Regions from separate parts of the Homo sapiens genome. Here regions 1, 3 and 4 are each linked to region 2. Evidence: promoter capture Hi-C in 16 types of primary human blood cells and fetal thymus (Javierre and others, 2016). All regions are on one chromosome and are shown on one strand. The core of a region is centred on a gene start or on the middle of the fragment in contact, and the rest is flanking DNA. Distances in the headings are between cores, read along the strand shown. Region 1 has its middle 64 kb from the start of C1orf220. Region 2 holds the start of ANGPTL1 (angiopoietin like 1). Region 3 overlaps LOC105371632 (a long non-coding RNA gene). Region 4 overlaps LOC105371632 (a long non-coding RNA gene).

Evidence for each region. Contacts are between HindIII fragments. The CHiCAGO score rates a contact against its expected background, and 5 or more counts as called.
Region 1: a fragment that was not itself captured here is called in contact with the fragment with the promoter of ANGPTL1 in region 2 in 2 of 17 cell types (total B cells and naive B cells); the score reaches 6.3 in total B cells.
Region 3: a contact is called between a fragment that was not itself captured here and the fragment with the promoter of ANGPTL1 in region 2, in 1 of 17 cell types (naive B cells). The highest score is 8.3, in naive B cells.
Region 4: a contact is called between a fragment that was not itself captured here and the fragment with the promoter of ANGPTL1 in region 2, in 2 of 17 cell types (total B cells and naive B cells). The highest score is 9.1, in total B cells.

Annotation. Positions count from the first base shown.
Region 1 is chr1:178,605,143-178,608,458 of GRCh38, forward strand. No RefSeq gene overlaps it. Among named protein-coding and RNA genes, the nearest start is that of C1orf220, 64 kb to the left of the region's middle. RefSeq lists enhancers at 779-928, 939-1,078, 3,183-3,262. The HindIII fragment of the contact is 1,463 bases long and covers 803-2,265 here.
Region 2 is chr1:178,869,642-178,873,028 of GRCh38, forward strand. It overlaps ANGPTL1 (angiopoietin like 1), which reads right to left and starts at 1,436. Exons shown (of 6, transcript NM_004673.4): 1 at 1,100-1,436. All of the region lies in intron 8 of RALGPS2 (Ral GEF with PH domain and SH3 binding motif 2), which reads left to right. The HindIII fragment of the contact is 10,209 bases long and covers 1-3,387 here.
Region 3 is chr1:178,551,332-178,554,835 of GRCh38, forward strand. LOC105371632 (a long non-coding RNA gene) reads right to left here. Exons shown (of 4, transcript XR_922315.3): 4 at 2,819-3,325. Among named protein-coding and RNA genes, the nearest start is that of C1orf220, 10 kb to the left of the region's middle. The HindIII fragment of the contact is 8,210 bases long and covers 1-3,504 here.
Region 4 is chr1:178,575,333-178,578,579 of GRCh38, forward strand. LOC105371632 (a long non-coding RNA gene) reads right to left here. Exons shown (of 4, transcript XR_922315.3): 1 at 1-3,247. Among named protein-coding and RNA genes, the nearest start is that of C1orf220, 34 kb to the left of the region's middle. The HindIII fragment of the contact is 986 bases long and covers 1,462-2,447 here.

The sequences.
Region 1 (3,316 bases), core at 284-2,783, 260 kb before region 2:
CAAAAGCTCAAGGAAGAGAGAATCCAACCTAATGGAAACACAACGAAACATTGTGTCATTTACTACCCTTCCCCTCCAATCTCCTCTCCAGGCTTTTATATGTCTTGAGGGTTAGTTTTTATATAAAACTATTAAAATGTATGCTTAATATGTTATATACATCTATACTATGTTAAAAAAAAATGTGAAGAGATTCCTCTCCCTCCACTTCTACCTACCTGCCTGGCCCCCACCACAAATCCCTTGGGTTGGCAGGGTTGGCAGCAGAGGCCTGATCTGGAGGCCAGGTTGAACCACCCCCGAGAGTGAAAACCCACAACAAGAAAGCATCTACAGGCCGGGCGCAGTGGCTCACGCCTGTAATCCCAGCACTTTGGGAGGCTGAGGCGGGCAGATCATGAGGTCAGGAGATTGAGACCATCCTGGCTAACACGGTGAAACCCTATCTCTACTAAAAATACAAAAAAAAAAAAAAAAAATTAGCTGGGTGTGGTGGGCACCTGTAGTCCCAGCTACTCGGGAGGCTGAGGCAGGAGAATGGTGTGAACCCGGGAGCGGAGCTTGCAGTGAGTCGAGATCGCGCCATTGTACTCCAGCCTGGCGACAGAGCAAGACTCTGTCTCAAAAAAAAAAAAAAAAAAAAAAAAAAGCATCTACACAGCATTATTCTGTGCAAAACACAGCCCACAGCAGGTTTCCAGTTGTCAGAACTGACTCCCCAGTGTGAGCTCCTCCACTCCTCACCTGTCATTAAGGGCGTCATTTCCATAGAGAACGTTCTTGAAAATCAGCCCTTCTATGAAGCTTCTTTCCAACATACCCCTCCCTGTTCTTTCCCTTCCACCTGGCAACAGAAGACATTTTCTCTTCTCTTTGAGCACACTGGGACTACATGCAGCTCCTGGGGAAATTCTCCAAAGAAACAGATTCTTGCTTTTAACTCCTGACCTACTCACACAACAGAGCCCACAGCAGGAAGGCCCCATTCTCGGCCTAGTGAGCTGAGGTGTTGCCACCCACTAGGCACAGCTGCTCTGCTAATTTTAGACCTCTCTGAGAAGTCACTTGACTTCAAGGCACTTGGAGACACACATCACACCCTGTCTCAGGAGGTGGTCTGGGGTGGGGCTCACTCTGCTTTCAACACCCATAACACCTTGTAACCTACAAAAGTGACTTTTTTTTGGAGGTTCTCCTCAATAAATGATAAAAAATAAATGACAACACTCAAAATGAGCTGTGAAACTGAAATTTGTTTCCACCTGGTCTAGCCCTGAAGCCTTAGGTGCCTTATTCAGCTGCCTGATCTTTACCAGGCACCACCTCATATTCCACACATCCACAGCTTAACCCTGGTGAGTGCCGCCTGGGGCAATTTTAGTCACCCAAGCTAGGACCCTCAGGACAACCCTGACTACCTTCCATCTCTCTCCAGTCACTAAATCTTAAACTGAAAACTATTTTGTCTCCTAAATAATGTTTGCAAACTTCCCCTCTATTCTGGCACCCTCATCCCATTTCAGGTTCTCTTCAGCGTCTCCCTGCACACTGCAGCAGTTTGCCCACAGTCACCCCGCCTTCTGTCTCATCCTCAAAGTCTAGCATCTATGGTGATCTTTCTAAAACCATGTCTATATCTCACTTAAACCCCTTCAAGGCATCCTGTCAGGTTCTCCAGCCTATCTGCTCATTAGAATCACCTGGGCCCTTAAAAAAAAAAAAAATCAGTTCCTGCTTCCATTCCCAGAGATTCTGATTTAAGTGGACTGGATGGGAGAAAGAAACCATATTTCTTTTTAAAATTTCCCAGGAAATCCTAATGTGCAAACATGGTTGAGAACCCCTGACCTGCAGGATAAAGTCCAGGCTCCTTCCCATGGCACCCAAGATGCTCCTGACTGGGCCCCTGGCCACCCTCTCCGGCCAGCCTCACTCCTGGCCAGTCCATGCCTTTATGTGCCAGCAACACTGAACTGCTTGCAGCTCCCAGCATTGCTTATGCTGTTCTCGCTGTCTGAAGTGCCCTCCCTACTGGTCCAACCAACATCACCTTCTACAGAAAGCCATTCCTGACTACTTTCCCTCACCTCCAGGTGCCCCGTGAAACTTTGGATGTGTCTCTATTACCGAACATTCACATGATTTTATGATACCCATCTTTCTTAAACACAAGGGAGACATTTATTTATACAGGGATAGTTCACAGAGCCCAAAGCTGCTGAAACTATAGCTGGGCCTCTCAAGCACTGGAACCCTGAATTAGAAAGCTTTCAGATACCAAGGTGCTTTCTTTCAGTCATTTTCTCTCACTGGGTTACGTGGCTTCTGGTGTCTGTTCATTGCTTTTGGATCTCCTTGGCAGACAACATTCTCTACCTCTGTGTACCTGGGTGGGCCAAAAATGGGCACTTCACAAAGGCTGAGTCAACTCCTGAAGGCCGTGTTCTCACTTCCAGCAATACTGACCAACATCCTGGCTGTCAATTCTAAAGTCCCTGAAGAGAGAATCTTATTGGCCCAGGGGTTCACCCTTGTCCATCAGCTGTGGCCAAATAGGGTTGCTGCGTAAGAGGCAAGTCTTGAAAAAATAGAGAGGAGTCATAGGATTAGCAGACTACCTAAAAGGTGACAACTATGCCCCAAGAGTCAAGGAATTCTTGAACTATGTGATAACCATGTATAGGTCAGCAATAGAGACCAAGTGCTGTGTGAGCCCAGAGGAGTAAACCATAGTAGTCTTCGATGTCAGGGAAGTCCTCACAAGAAAGTTGGCACTGGGCCAGGCATAAGAGAAAATAAAGGGCAAATGGCAATATCAGCAAGATACCTAAAAATTAGGCTTTTATGTGAAAGTACAAGAAATGGACTGAAATGGTGGCAAGATACCGGGATCAGCAGATGGGCCTAAGTTTGGTTCAGACTGTGAGAGTCTTTAAGTGACAGAATAAAAGTCTGGTCTTCACTGCTCAAGAGGGGGTTCCTCTCAGAGGACCTCAATCACTCAAGTAAGGAGAAGGGGGAGTCAGGAGACCCAGGGAGAGGCCCTTTGGGTCTGAGTTAAAGCAATGAGTCACTTCTTACTACTTAACAATGCAAAAAGCACTTTGCGGCCGGGCACTGTGGTTCAAGCCTGTAATCTCAGCACCTTGGGAGGCCGAGATGGGTAGATTACCCGAGGTCAGGAGTCTGAGACCAGCTTGGCCAACATGGTGAAATCCTATCTCTATAAAAATACAAAAAATTAGCTGGGTGTGGTGGCAGACACCTGTAGTCCCAGCTTCTCAGGAGGCTGAGGCGCGAGAATTGCTTGAACCTA
Region 2 (3,387 bases), core at 186-2,685:
ATCCTGCCAGCATTTACAGTTTTAAATCTTTAAGGAAAGGACACAAAAGCAAAGTTGGAAAAAATTTTAGCTTTACCATTATTTGCTTGTTCAAGATTCTTAACCATTAATATCTTTAATTTTTACAAGGCTAAAGGAGCCCCAAATCTAACAAACTTAAGTGTCTTTGGTTTAAGGCATACTATTGGTAACGAGTAATTTTATCTTTAATAGTTTTTATAATGCATGTAAAAAAAGCTCCCAGATAGAATATTGAAGGAAACCTCTTATGTGTGCTTAACAAAATTATTTCTACCTAAAATATTACATATTTTTGGCCTTTTAGTCATGAATTTAATTACATCTTCTGGGTTCTTATTTTCTATTGTTAATACCACTTACATAATGCTTTTGTGTGTATATCAATAACTTAGCTTTTCCAAGTGATTCCATTTGTAGCAAGTTTAATTTCTGTCATCCAAATTAAATTACTATTACATGTAAGCCTGGAAAGCTATTTAAAATTTTGAGTTGGAACAAGAAATGCCATAGATTAATCTTAAATCTGTACAAGAATTTCTGCTTAATATTTGGTTATACTGTAATTGAGATTTTGTTGCAAAGACTTTCAACTATTTTTGTATCTTAGCTTTGTTTTATGACTACACTGAGAAATCCAACAGTTTATGTATATCTTCAGCACACACACTGTGGCTGCAGGAAGAGAAACTAATTGTGTTCACGACTATTTAGTTTGTATTCCTTTGTTTTTAATCATTGTGCTGTAAGCCTTATACATTTAATCTGTTACTTGTTAAAATTTCTTTCTACTGTCACTAAAGCACTTGTTTTCAGAAACCCAGCATGGCATGCATGTATCAGTCTGTAATCATATACACTAAACATCATTAAATTGAACCTCAAATAATGCATTAACCATTGCACAGTACTTAATGTTTTTATGTCAAGTTGCAAGATAAAACCTTTTTCAGATGAGATAAACTGTAGTATATTCCAAAGGTCTTTGTTTAGTAAAAGATTCTGAAATTTCTACTACAAATATAAAATAGTTATGCATTTGCTATACATAATATTTTTAAATAAAAGAAATATTAAATACCTTTTTGTGTCTGTTGATTCAGTGAATCCAGAAACTTGCTGCCCTTATTCTTGATTTTAAAAATCAGTGTAGAAGTTTGTTCATCTGTGACTTTAATGGCAGCTGCATTTTTGTTTTGGACCGTTGAATCCAAGCTGTAAGAAGGAACTTCTTTTTCCTTTTACAATACTAATCAATTGAATTTGACAAGCCACCTATGTAATTTTAAGTAGTATAGTGGAAGTTCTGGTCTGTGGGCCGTCTTTAATCCAGCAGAGAAAGCGTTGTGGCTTTGCTCTGTCTGCCACATGGAGAAATGCAGTAACCAGCTGCAGCTGACCCAGATTGTATATACAGTACCCCTGAATAGTGATTCCCTCTTTCTCAGTAGACTCAAGTTCAGCCCACATATTACATCACCAAAAATTGCTGGAGACTGGGGGCGGGAATCTCCTTAGGATTTCCTCTTTGTAGCCTTAAATAGGGGGGTGGGATCAGCAGGAGGTTGAATAGTTTTGAACAAGGAGAGATTGTGTGCAGGTTGAAGGAAGGGCACCATCTGGAAACAAACTATCATAGTTCAGCGGGCAATTATAAAACAAACATTTTAGTCTGCTGGCCAGAGATCTTTTAAGTTGAATACCGAAAAAAAAAATAGTGCTCCACTTCACTTAGAAGTAGTTGCAGGCTGATGAGTTTGGTTTTTGTTAACAAAGAACAAGAGCTAGACTTTGTCAGGAGGCAGCCACCTAAATAATGTAATAAATACTCTTTATAGCCTAGAAGAATTTGTAAACATTTTACTAAGTTGCTAATGAAGGTTTTAAACTTACAAGAAACTTGATGTTGTTGTAGTATGTTATGTCTTACTGTGTAATGTGTCTTAAGATAAAACAGCCTTTATATATAATTACCAAACATAAGTGAAATTCTTTCAGATGCTTAAGACTTTTAAATATTACATTCTGGTGTTACATAATGTCATATCCTCCTATTCTACAAAATGACCTCTCCTCTCTGTAAAAGGTCATTCTTGTTATTAATTGATGTGGTGTGGTTTAAAAACAAACATAACCCTGAACTGAGTAAAAAACAAGGAAGCTCTGACTCTATGCCAGCTATGTGAACTTAGACAAATCACTTTACCTGCCTCTGGCAAGGTTCTTCTGCTATGAAATAAGGTGGTGGAAGAAATGAATAAGTGTTGAGTACAACTATACTATTGTATTTCATTAATTGAAGAAATGTTAAATAACTCAGTAGCTGAAGAAACACAAACTTAGGCTTAAGTAACTTAGCTTAGCACTTAAGTACTAAGTAGTGGAACTGGGATTTGAATCTAATGCCAAAGCATTATGCCACACTCTCTGTCATTGATTACCTAGTTGCTGTAAGCTGCTTCTAGATAAAACTTTTGGGCTTTCTCTACATACCTGTGCTTTCCCTTCCTTATTGCTGTAGCTTGTGCTGTGTTTCTCTTTCTGTTAGGCCACACTGTTGATCCACATCCTTTATTTAAAGTCTGAGCTTATTTTCTACCTCTTTCACAGAATCATTTATTTGAATTCCTATGCCATATATAGGTATACCAGAGGTTGCAAACACAAGGGCCTAGAAAGGCAAATGCTCACAAGAAGAATGGAGCAGGTAATATAAATCAGTGAAGTAAATCAGTAGTAAGATACTGGAGGGAAATGAAGTTTATGGCAAGTTGGCATCCTTTTGGTTAATTTAAAGGGATCTGCCTGCACCTTCTCAGCTGTGCTTGTGGCCATGAAGGATTATGAGACAGTGTTGCCAGATCTTCCCATTATTCAGGAAAAAAGAGCCATTTAGATTTTTCCTGTAATACTTCCTGATTTTAAAAAACATTGGGACAGATGTGCTGCCAGCTTCTGGCCTCTGATTTGTATTATGTATCGTTTCTTGAGCATTCAGTAATTATGTTGTAGTCACTAATGGCTTAAATCTGGGAAAAATAAGAGATAATAAATTCTTTCTGAGCTTTTAAACTTTCAGCAGTTTGGAGCTTTCTAACTTGAGCACTTAGTAATATCACTAGCCAGGGTAGGAAATTGGAATGACAGGTATTTAGGGACAGATTATGGTTAGATATGTTAAATTGAAAATGAAAGTCAGGAGCTCAGTTATATGGAGAGATTTGAAAGTCACCAGCAATTAGGTAGTAGCTAAAGCTATGGAACTAAGATACTAGAGAAAGTACATGTAGAATGTAAAGGAAGGTTAATGACAGACCATGATACCAATTTCCAGGAAACCAGCTTACAAGAAACATGAGGAAAAAGAAG
Region 3 (3,504 bases), core at 73-2,572, 320 kb before region 2:
ACAGGCTGAAGTCTTGTCCGTAAGATGCTTCTGTGGAAGTTACAGGGAGCTGACCCTGGCCTTGGAACTAACTGTGGTGGGATCAGAGAGGGGGGAAGCAGAGATGGTGCCAGCTTTGGCCCAAAGATCAGAAGCAGTAAGGACTCTGTGCCTCTGGCAAAAGGACAACTCCATGTTTTCTGTGCAAACATCCAAGTTACCATTTCCCCAGGCGACATTGCAGCTGTGGGGCCTGTGAACAGGACAACAGCTAACCATTCTGAGTTTAAAAAAATCAAGGACAGTACCCTCATGTTTATAATATAGGGGGCAAAGCAAAATCCATTGACAAGCATTTCCTTTAAAATACAGGGAAGGAAGATTCCATTGTCTACAAATTCTAATGGAAATTAATAAAGATGAGCAAATATCACAAACGTTGTCTTTATTCTGTGGTGTATTCTATGTGGTGTCCTGGTTATATGAGTATTTACAGAAGTTTTTCTAGCTTCTCTGTTGTCTCAACTCCCAACTGTCTGTTTTTCCCCATAAGGGTTTAAGTTCCTCAACCACGAATTGTCCTGCCACTGAAGTTTGCAGCCTAATCCCGTGCAGGGGACAGAGGGGAATTGTTTGGGTTGGAATGACTGGAAATCAGGGTGCCTGCTTGGGGAGGGGGTTGATGAATCTAAAACGACAGGTAGGGGTTAACTATGGAGGGGAGAAAGCCTTCATTTTAAAGTGGTGAGGTCCTGGTGTCCCTTGGCAGGCATTGCTGCCCTTTTGCACTGGTCTTCACCTTCTCCAGCCAGACATCCCAACACACAGAGTCCTCAGGGGGCCAGAGTCACCCTGTGTGGAAGTGGGAGAAATGCTCTCCTACAGGGGCCTCTAAAAAGTGCTGCTGCATGTGAGTGCATGGGTGTGCGTGAGTGCATTAAGCAATGTTTAGTGCAATCGTACATCCAGATTTTACTTACAACTCCCTCTGTCCTTAGGCATAGTAAATTAGGGCCAGGTATCTGTTTGGCTCTATTAACCAAGGGCCAAGTTAATGCCAAGCACTGGCCTTTCCTGGGGCTGATCCTCCTCATGAGGTCCAGCCCGCCCTGTCTCTTAAGACAAGTTCTTTCTCAGGTCAGGCAGCATCTCCGGCTCTCAGTAAAGAGACTTTGGGTGGCTCAATCCCACCAGTTCGTCTGGCACATCTAGACACACGAACCCCTCCCATCCCCACCCCAGCTACCTAAAGCAAGGGGGTGATATGAGCCAATCTGTGTTTACATAAAATTAGATGGCAGCCAAGGAGAGAATGATTAGCCTGCAGCAGAATCTCCTAGACAGCTGGTTGGAGGTAAAGGTTGCTGTGCCCTACCTGGAAATTCTCATTCACTAGGCCAGGGCAGGGCCTGAGAATTTGCATTTTAAGCATGTGTACTTGCCCCCTCACCTCATGATTCTGACAGTTGGCAGACCTTATCAAACACTGGACTAGAGAAAAGCTAAGCTGGTGGCCAGATCAGTATGGAGCTTGGATTGTGGGTGAGAGTTGGCAAAGGCCTGACTGAAGCAGGCACCACCATAGAGAGGAAGAGAAACTGGATTCCAGGGAGAGAACAGGGAGCAAGGATGGGCCCTGGCTGGGTGGGGAGAAAAGGAGGAGGGCAGGGAAGAGGCTGCCGCCAGGGCGGCCTCCTGACCAGCACCTGCTTTTCTGGGAGCTGGCATCCACGGGATCTGCAGCTCTTCACACATGTAGGGGAGAGGTCCTGGGCTCCCTCTCCTCCTGCTGGCACCAGCTGGCCCTGCTCACCTGATAGCAGCTCTCAGCCTGGGGACAAGCCAGGGCCACTCCCTGGGAATGCTCAGGTTATAGATGCACCCTAGTCCCAAACACAGCCTGTCCATGGCCCCAGCTGATAAAGTTACCAAATGTCAGGTGTGACAGATTTTCCTGGAGGAGGACAGAGAGTGGAAATGATGGCTGATCCCAAAGGGTTGCCTTTTAAACCCCAAACCCATTTAGTGGTAACTACACCTGACATTTCCAGAGCCCTCCCATTTAGGGAATTTAAAAATGCCTGGACTCCACATGGACATTTTTCTTCTTCTTCTTGCGGGTTTTTTGTTTGTTTGTTTTGTTTTGTTTTGTTTTGTTTTGTTTTGTTTTTGGATACAGAATCTCACTGTCACTCCGTCACCCAGGCTGGAGTGCAGTGGTGTGATCACGGATCACTGCAGCCTCAACCTTCCAGGCTCAAGTGGAGGTCTTCCCGAGTAGCTAGGACTACAGGCACACACCACCACTCCTGGCTAATTTTTGTATTTTTTGTGGAGATGGGGTTTCACCATGTTGTCCTGGCTGTTCTTGAACTCCTGGGCTCAAGCGATGCTCACACCTGTAATCTTAGCACTTTGGGAGTGCTAGGAGACTTTGCCCAGGAGACAGCAAAGAGCCAGCAGACAAATTCCTTTTCCTTCCTCTCCTGCTCTGAGGTGTGGTGGGTGGAAGAGAGGCACCTGGCCTCTTCTTCTTTTAAAATGATTTACACAATGGACTGTCATGTACCATGTAGAAGTTATTTTTCTTTTTTATCTATTTGTTATTAAGTAGGGGTAGCATTAATCTTTTTATAGATGTGAATAATTTCTGGATATAAATGGCTCCCTACTTTTAGAGATTTTGATTTGAAATTGCTATTATCTTACAAAGTTGTCCCTTTTGTATTAAAGAAGTCCATGTCATTGTGAGTAGCACCCCTGGGTGCCGAGACCAGCTCAGTCAGGGAGACCCTAAACCAGCGGCGCTAGAGGAATTAAAGACACACACAGAAATATAGAGGTGTGAAGTGGGAAATCAGGGGTCTCACAGCCTTCAGAGCTGAGAGCCCCAAACAGAGATTTACCCACGTATTTATTAACAGCAAGCCAGTCATTAGCATTGTTTCTATAGATATTAAATTAACTAGAAGTATCCCTTATGGGAAAAGAAGGGATGGGCTGAATTAAAGGAATAGGTTGGGCTAGTTAACTGCAGCAGGAGTATGTCCTTAAGGCACAGATCGTTCATGCTATTGTTTGTGGCTTAAGAATGCCTTTAAGCAGTTTTCCGCCCTGGGTGGGCCAGGTGTTCCTTGCCCTCATTCCCATAAACCCACAATCTTCCAGTGTGGGCATTATGGCCGTCATGAACATGTCATAGTGCTGCAGAGATTATGGCCAGATTTTGGGGGGGGGGGCCTGCTCCCAACATGTCCCCCTTCTTTGATTTGCAAATCGATAAAAGCAAGGGCAGCTTTGTCACGGTGAGCTATTTCTTGCAGGAGTCAGGATCCATATCTGCAGACTATACAAAGACAAACAACATAGATTAAAAGCACAGTCATCATTGAAATCACAGAGCTTCCAAGTGTTTTTATCCATTTTAATGGGTTACTAGCTGCTAATTTGTCTGCAGCTCCTTTAAGCACTTCAGTTCCTGGCATTAAGGTCAGGTGTGCCTGGGATGCTTTAAATATTTGTTCT
Region 4 (3,247 bases), core at 705-3,204, 290 kb before region 2:
CACCTGGCTGTTTCTTTCTTTTTCTGTTGTTGAGACAGAGTCTCACTCAGTCACCCGGGCTGGAGTACAGTGGCACCATCTTGGCTCACTGCAACCTCCACCTCCACCTCCAGGGTTCAAGCGATTCTTGTGTCTCAGTCTCCCAAGTAGTTGGAATTACAGGTGCACACTATCACGCCTGGCTAATTTTTGTGTTTTTAGTAGAGATGGGGTTTCACCATGTTGGCCAGGCTGGTCTCGAACTCCTGGCCTCAAGTGATCTACCCACCTCTACCTCCCAAAGTGCTGGAATTACAGGTGTGAGCCACCATGCCCAGCCAACCTGGCTGTTTCTTTTCCAGCCCTTCCAGAATGAGAATTCATGTAGGCCATCTGCCCCACTCTGATCTGCAAGCTGCCTCCCTGATTCCTTGACTCCCTGCAACCCACATCCCCTCCTGTCTTCAGGACATCATACTCGCACCTGGGGGAAAAGGGGAAGTAAAAAGGGAGGCTCAGTGCCCCTGGGTCTGCTTTGTCTGTGAGAGAAATCTGACATTGTTGGCAGAGAACTAACATGTCTTCTTAGAAAAAAGTAGAGCCCCAGTTGCCTGGATACAGTCAGGAATACATATCACTGGATCTGTGGGTGACCTGTAGTTACTTTGTCCCTATTTGAGTTTCCTGAATGTTAAGAGGAAAATGGAGCAGAGCTAACAAATACCTCATACCTGCTTGGGCTTTCTCCGTCAGTCCTCTGTGTGTGCATCACACACCCACACATATGCAAAATAGCTCAGTGTAAAAACCCTGCAGTAAACATCAATCCTTGTAGATTCCCGGGGAGTTCTAGTTGGATTTGCTAGCAAAGCAACTTCCATAAAGACTATAAATAGCAGGCATGTGCCTCTGTAAGCAGTGCAGCTATTTTTTTTTAAATAGGGGATTCTCATGTTACAAGGACATCACAGATTACTGAATAATTTATTTAATGGTAGATTATATGGGCTTCACTCTTTGCCAGTGAGCTCATACCCAAATGTCTAAAGGAGATAAGGTGAGCAAAAGCTAGATGTCAGGCTTGGGTGAGCTGTTTATTTATTTTTATTAGATATGTATAACTATTGTAGCCATTTATATTTTACTTAATATTATCTCAGCTGCAAAGGTCATATATACAATAGTGTCACTACTTTATTACAGACATTTAGCTAACTTCTAACAATTCATATCGCACACAGCATGAGAAATACAGAATAGAATAATAAATAACTTTGGTTGCACTTGATTTTAACAAAGGACTGTGATATATAGGAGTATGTTTGTTCTCTATGAAAGTATAGGGAAATGAGGGGACAAAATTCAAAAAAAGGATGTTAGATTTGAAAATAGAGATAAGAAAAAATGATCTAAATCCATGTTTTTCTGTGAACTATTGTTATAATCTTTTCAATGACTTATAGTAAAAAAAAATTGCTTATAAGCTTACAGATCTTAGACATTTTACCTTTAGCTATATACAGTTCTCAGGTGTGCAGAGGTACCCTGGAAGACGGACATACTTTTCTGTCAAATGTAATTTTAATGAATATGAAATTTATTTAAAAAGGAAATTTAAATTTGGCAATAGCAAGATGTCAAAAGATTTGAACAGGCACATAACAGGAAATTCATGTGGCCAATTAACATAGTAAAAGATTCTTGGTTTTGTTTAATAATCAGGGAAATGCAAATTAAACTCACAGTGAAATGTTACTCACTACACAGCCACCTGATCAGTTGAAGTTTTAAAGTTTGACAATAACAAGTGCTGTTGAGGATGGAATATAGTGAGAACCGCTGCTGTTGGAAGTTTGTTTTTATTTATTTTTTGAGTCAGGGTCTTGCTCTGTCACCCACGCTGGAGTGCGGTGGCGCGATCATGGCTCACTGCAGCCTCCACCTTCCAAGTAGCTGGGACTACAGGAGTGGACCACCATACCCAGCTATTTTTTTTTCTTTTTTTTGTAGACATGGGGTCCCACTGTATTGTTCAAGCTGGCCTTGAATTCCTGGGCTCAAGCGATCCTCCCACCTCAGCCTCCCAAAGTGCTGAGATTACAGGTGTGATCACCGCACCCAGTCTGCTTTTGGGAGTTTAAATTGAAGCAAAGTTTTGGCAAATAGTTGCCATTCTCTACTAAGGTTAAAGATTCACACACCCTATTCACAAGTGGAGAAATTCTGATGTGGGAAAATGCCATCAAGGCAGGTGTACATGCATATGCTGTGGACCAGGATGTATACAAGAATGTGTAGAGAAGCAGTGTTTGTAATAGCCCCAAGCTGGAACCAAACCAAATGCTGGCCTGTCATAGAAAGCATAAGAATTAGAGCCACTTAACAACAGCATGGTTGGAGTTAATAAATATAATGTTGAAGAAAAGAAGCAAGACACAAATACTCAGAGTCAGGGTCCATTGATATAAAGCTTATAAACGGGCAAAGCTAAACTACATTGTTTAGGGATGCATATAGAGATAGTAAAACTCTAAAGAAAAGCAAGGAAATTGTTATAATAAAAGTGAGGATGGTGGTTACTTTTAGAGGAGAAAAAGAATTGTGACCGAGCTTACTCTGAGACTTCTGCACTCTGGAAATGTTCTATTTCTTGACCTGGCTGTGGTTTCATGGGTTTTTACTTCATCATCATTCACTGAACTGGATCTTTACTTCCATAGTTTGTGGATGTACGTTATGTTTCACGCACACATACATACACACACATGATGCTTTCTAGTCATACTACTAAATACTGAAAGATCAAAATCTAGAAAAAGAAACTCCCTAGTTCAATTTAGTACCTTTAAAAAATGAACTTTAAGTATTCAGTTCAGTTGAATGAACATTCAAAACAACAAGCCGAATCTATGCACCATTGTGCCTCAGAATTCTACAGTGTTGTGCTGGAAGGACAGCCAGAGGAAAGGAAGGAGCATCAGCTCCCAGGCAAGGGCTGCTTCCCAGCCAGCTCTGCTCCTCCACATCTCTTTCCCCAGGCAATTCTCTAGGCTTGGTTTCTCATCTGTAGAGGCCCAGACTGGATCTGCTCCTCTGAGAGTCTCCTAATATATTACTAAGAGTCATCTGTTGGAAGTTTGTCATTTTTAAAATATAAAATTCTTTTCATTTGGACAAGAATCTAAAGAATATAAGCATATTTGGGGTCCTCCCTATGTCCACGTTTGAGTGTACAGTGCCAGCCTTGCTCAGTGTTCACAATCACAAT